2 separate regions of the Homo sapiens genome follow, and region 1 is linked to region 2. Evidence: promoter capture Hi-C in human tissues and cell types (Jung and others, 2019). All regions are on one chromosome and are shown on one strand. Each heading gives the region's core, a stretch centred on a gene start or on the middle of the fragment in contact. The rest is flanking DNA. Distances are from core to core; before and after follow the strand shown.

The links. The method cuts DNA at HindIII sites, captures the fragments that hold promoters and counts their contacts. A contact is called where the count stands out against the background at its distance.
Region 1: a contact is called between a fragment that was not itself captured here and the fragment with the promoter of BMP8A in region 2, in 1 of the 25 tissues and cell types used here (neural progenitor cells).

What each region holds. Positions count from the first base shown.
Region 1 is chr1:39,801,154-39,803,853 of GRCh38, reverse strand. It overlaps LINC02811 (long intergenic non-protein coding RNA 2811), which reads left to right. Exons shown (of 4, transcript NR_186710.1): 4 at 2,370-2,440. All of the region lies in intron 1 of LOC130932201 (a long non-coding RNA gene), which reads right to left. Among named protein-coding and RNA genes, the nearest start is that of BMP8B, 14 kb to the right of the region's middle. The HindIII fragment of the contact is 4,619 bases long and covers 1-2,700 here.
Region 2 is chr1:39,490,251-39,492,950 of GRCh38, reverse strand. It overlaps BMP8A (bone morphogenetic protein 8a), which reads right to left and starts at 1,315. Exons shown (of 7, transcript NM_181809.4): 1 at 626-1,315. The coding sequence starts at 959. It overlaps LOC124904101 (a long non-coding RNA gene), which reads left to right and starts at 1,403. Exons shown (of 2, transcript XR_007065978.1): 1 at 1,403-2,262. RefSeq lists silencers at 987-1,086, 1,187-1,816. The HindIII fragment of the contact is 32,682 bases long and covers 1-2,700 here.

The sequences.
Region 1 (2,700 bases), core at 116-2,615, 310 kb before region 2:
TTAGGCAGCTATAACATTAGGTGATCTGCTGAGAGCGAGGAGCTAGAAGGGAAGCTTGAAGTCTGAGGACAGTGCAACTAAACATCAAAATGCACTGGAATTGTCTAACGGCATTGAGGTTGGTGACTGAATTTATAGTGTTACTTACACCCCCAGTAGTTCTTAAAAAATGCTTCCTGGCCTGGCTGTAAGCATAAAGGAGAGGCATAGTTAGGTTCACCTAGAGTTTGGAGGGTTTGTTTTGTTTTGTTTCTTGAAACAGAGTCAGGCTGGGCACGGTTGCTCATGCCTGTAATCCCAGCACTTTGGGAGGCCGAGGCGGGCGGATCATGAGGTCAGGAGATCGAGAGCATCCTGGCTAATGCAGTGAAACCCCGTCTGTAATAAAAATACAAAAAATTAGCCGGGCGAGGTGGCGGGTGCCTGTAGTCCCAGCTACTCCGGAGGCTGAGGCAGGAGAATGGCGTGAACCTGGGAGGCGGAGCTTGCAGTGAACCGAAATCGCACCACTGCATTCCAGTCTGGGTGACAGAGCAAGACCCCGTCTCAAAAAAAAAAAAAAAAAAATAGAAACAGTCTCGCTCTGTTGTCCAGGCTGGAATGCAGTGGTGCAATCATAGCTCACTGCAGCCTCGATCTCCAGGGCTCCAGAAATCCTCCCACCTCAGCCTCCTGAGTAGCTGGGACTACAGGTTCACACCACTATACCTGGCTATTTTTTTTTTCCCCAGTACAGTCAAGGTCTCTTTGTGTTGCTCAGGCGGCCTCGAACTCCTGAGTTCAAGTGATCCTCCCGCGTTGGCCTCGGTGCTGGGATTACAGGCGTGAGCCACCATGCCTGAACATGTTTGGAGTTTTGATAGGTTGGTGCTGAGGACAAAGGGAGAGCCAAGGATTTTAGGATGTTTGCAAGGAAGTGATTGAAATGATGGAACATGACATTTAAGCTGGTTAAAGAGGAAAATGGAGGCAGAAATGAGTTGATGGATAGGCAGAAATTGAAGGAGGTCTTGAGGAGGCCTAGAAAGAGAAGTGGCTTGATTGGTGGAGCAAGCAAGCAGGAAAGACATGAATTTGTGGGCCCAACGGTAGTCCGGGGCTTTGACTAGTTGCAGAGGGTTGTCAGGGACATCGGGGCACGGTGAAGTGGGGAAGGACGGCATTGTGATGGGGAGATAAGGAACTGAAAAGCCGGGGGTAGGAGGGGCAGAGCCATGGACAATGGTCCTGGACCTTTCTTTGTAGATTAAAACTTTTCAGATGATCTTGGCAGCACTTGTGTGGGGAATGTGTGGAAGAACAAGATTTCACGTTTTGTTTATATTAAAATTTTGGAGACTCATGTTCACCCTGGAGTGGACACTTTTTTTTTTTTTTTTTTGAGACAGGCCCTTGCCCAGGTTGGCGTGCAATGGCGCGATCTCGGCTCACTGCAACCTCGGCCTCCCGGGTTCAAGTGATTCTCCTGCCTCAGCCTCTCAAGTAGCTGGGATTACAGATGTGCACTACCACGCCCAGCTAATTTTTGTATTATTAGTAGAGATGGAGTTTCACCATGTTGGCCAGGCTGGTCTCAAACTCCTGACCTCAGGTGATCCACCCGCCTCGGCCTCCCAAAGTGCTGGGATTACAGGCGTGAGCCACCGCGCCCGGCTGGAGTGGACACTTAACATTTAAATGTATTACAATTATGAGGCCAGGCGCAGTGGCTCACGCCTGTAATCCCAGTACTTTGGGGAGGCTGAGGCAGGTAGATCACTTGAGGTCGGGAGTTTGAGGCCAGCCTGGCTAACATGGCAAAACCCTGTCTCTATTAAAAATACAAAAACTAGCTGGGTGTGGTGGCACGCATCTGTAATCCCAGCTACTCAGGAGGCTGAGGCATGAGAATTGCTTGAACCCAGGAGGCAAAGGTTGTAGTGAGGCGAGATTGTGCCACTGCACTCCAGCCTGGGCAACAGCGAGACTCCATCTCAAAAATAATAATCATAATAAATAAATAAATATATTACAATTAGGCCCTAGATGTCAAAAGGTCTTTTCAGGACACAAAAGCGCTCAAGTGCACAGCCTCTGTAAACTGGCCAGAACCAGTCCGTGGTCGGTGGTCTTACTATCAGGAGAAAATTATTGATATCAGTCTCTTGTCCAGTCCAAGCTGTAGTTATGGCTTATGGAAACAGTGGTCAGTTAGTGGATGTGCTGCAATTATTTTCATATTGCTTATCTCAAGGCCAGTGCTTATTGTTCTGCTAGAGAAAACGAAAAACCTTGTGGCTGTTAGAACTTAGTTTATTCTTTAAGTGTAGGGGTGGGTGACTTAACCCTTGCCTGGCCTGGCCTGTATCTTTTTTTTTTTTTTTTTTTAGATGGAATCTCACTCTGTTGCCCAGGCTGGAGTGCAATGGCGTGATCTTGGCTCACCGCAACCTTCGCCTCCCAGGTTCAAGTGATCTTCCTGCCTCAGCCTCCCAAGTAGCTGGGATTACAGATGTGCACTACCATGCCCGGCTAATTTTTGTATTTTTAGTAGAGACAGGGTTTTGCCATGTTGGCCAGGCTGGTCTCAAACTCCTGACCTCAAGTGATCTGCCCGCCTCAGCCTCCCCAAAGTGCTGGGATTACAGGCGTGAGCCACCGCGCCCAGCCTATAATTTTGTATCTTATTGCCACAAAAGTCTGTTCTGTCAGTCTTATGCT
Region 2 (2,700 bases), core at 66-2,565:
ATTCCACAGGACCGGACACTCACCCTATACCAGGCCACATGCTAAGTGCAGGGCCCAGGGTGACAAGGCCACAGTCCCTGCCCCAGCGAGCTGAGTCTGCTCCTTCCCCAGCCGCTCCCCTGACAGCCGCACCCCACCCAGGCTCCGCACAGGGAAGAGCCTGCTGTGGACTCAGGGCACGCGACTCAGCTCTGGTCACTCCGATGATGTGACCACAGGTTTCCACGCTGAACTTTGTCCCTCTCCTCAGTACTGTCCTTATCACAGTGACAGCATCCCGGCCTCTGTTTACTCACCTGTCTCCCCAGGACCAGGCTGTCTTCCCGGGGCAGCCCAGGTGGGCAAAGACATCACCTAATTCTTACTCCTGGGTGTGTCTGGGGCAGGGTGAAGGCAGCGCCTGGGAGTCCACAGTCCCCCACACTCTGCTCCTGACCACCCCGCAGCCCAGGGGGCCCCCATGACCCTTAGACCTTCCCTAACCACGGCGGTCCCACTCCCCTGTGGTTCGCGTCCACCGTCTGTGATTCCCCGTTCGGCCAGGGCCCGGCACCGCCCGCGGATGCGCGCCCCTCCCCTGCAGCCAGCTTACTCCGAGGGTCCCCGCGCGGGCGGCCGCACTCACCCATGTTGACGAAGCTCATGACCAGGTCGGCGCGGCCCAGGCGCTGCTCCGCGGGCGCGCCGTCCTCGTCGTCGTCGCCAGCCATGGCGTGGTACAGGTCCAGCATGAAGAGCGGCGCGGACGCGGGCAGCCGGGAGGCGGCGGGTGGCGCGCGGGGCCGGGGCCGCCCGGGTAGCCCGAGCACCGCCAGGATCTCGCGCTGCACGTCCCGGCGCTCGCGCGCGCCCAGACGTCGCTGGGGACAGCCGGGCGGGGGTCGCAGGCCGGGGCCGCCCCCGCCCAGCGCGCACAACGTCAGGCCCAGAAGCCAGAGCGGTCCGGGGCGCGCGGCCATGGCGGGCCGGGGGCGCTCAGCGGGCGCACATCAGCTCCGCCGCCGCCCCTGGGCCCGGGGACGCCCCGACGGCGAACGGGGAGCTGAGTTCGGCGAGCAGGGGGCGGGGCTCGGCGGGCGGCGTCTGCGGCCTCAGCGCGGTCCCTGGAGCGCCCCCCGCGCGCACCTGCCCCGGCTCCGGGACAAGCGGACGCTGACGCGGACGCAGACGCCAACGCTTCGAGGCCGGGGCTGTTCTGAGGGCTGGGACTGTCAGCCAATCCGTCTGTCGCCGCCGTTCCCACCAGTCCGGCTGTGGCTGCGGTCCGCGCAGCGCAGGGGCGACCGGCGAGCTCCGGCAGCGACCCGGGCGGCGCGATTCCCGCGAGTCCTTGCCCCGGCTCAGCCGTCTGTGCCGCCCGCCCACCCCCGGGACTGACCAATGGGGGCGCGGGGGCGGGGCCTGGGCGCGGAGGCCGCGCCCGCTAGGAGCCCCGGGCGGCGGCAGGTGTTGCGGGTGGGGCGACCCCGAGGTGCGACCTCGGCGTGGCTGGCGGTTGGTCCGGGCGAGGAGCCCGCAGCCTGGGCGTCAGCGTGGTCAGGGCCGTCGTGGCTCCCGCCGCGGGCCTCGGCGCAGAGATCCTAAGGCCGCGGCGCCGTCCCGGTCCCGCCAGTGGTGCCACCCGGCTGCCTCGCCGTGGTGTGCCGTGGTCGCCACCGGGCCCGACACGCGGCCGTAGCCCCGTCTGGAGAGCCGGGCGGTGCCAGCCAAGCCCCGCGGGTGGGGCCTGTTCCTCTGCCCGCAGCAGCCGGCCCGGGTTCCGGCCACCGCGGCCCCTCACCGCCTCCTGGCGCCTTCCCCGTGGCCCCTGCATGCGCTTCTGCGGGCGCCTCCTTCTCGGCACCTGCTCGGCTGCTTCTCCCTGCGTCCCCCACCTGGCTCCCGCGTGAGCCCAGGCAGCGCCCCAGTCGGGCCGCCCCCGCCAGCCCTAGCTGTGCGCCCTGCGTCCCCGGTACTGATCCAGCTTTGCGGAGGAGGCTCCGCCTCCTGCCTCCAGCTGGGCCAGAAGCTCTGGGGCCCTTCCCGAGCACTCGGGAGCCACCTGTGCACATCTTCTCAGTCCCCACGGCCCCGGTGCAGGCCTGCCAAGAGAAGGATCCCCGCGGAAACGTCTCGACTGACTCAGTCCCTTTCTGCACACCTGCTCTTCCCTGGGCGCGCTCTCGCCTTACTTATTCCTGTGTGGTTCAGGCGCTGCGGAAGGAGAAGGCACCTAGACTGCACTGGGAAGGCTCCTGGAGTTGACCTGGAGCGCCAGGAAAGGTCAGTGGAGGAAAGTGCTCCAGGCAGAGGGAATAGCTTGTGCCAAGGCCCTGAGACCCCGGCTGGGGAGCCTAATAATGGCAACAGTCAGCACTTGCCACGCCAAGGCATGTTCTGAGTGTGTGTCTCGTGTCATTTCTGTGATGCTCGCACATCGTTAGGGGGTACATACCACTGGAACCTCCTCTTTTAATAAATGAGGAAACTGAGGCACACGGCGGTTAAGGGACTTACGCCAGGTCACACAGCAGTGGAGCTGCGCTCGGGCAGGGGGGCAGTGGAAACTGGAGAGCCCAGGGGGCAAACGGCGGAGGCTGGAGGGGCTGGCAAGGGAGGCACCGCAAAGGGCCTCACAGGGGCTAGACGAGGGCCCTGGGCACCAGAGATTATGGTGCCCCGCCATGTGGATTGAAGATTAAACCTCGAAGCAAGTGTATA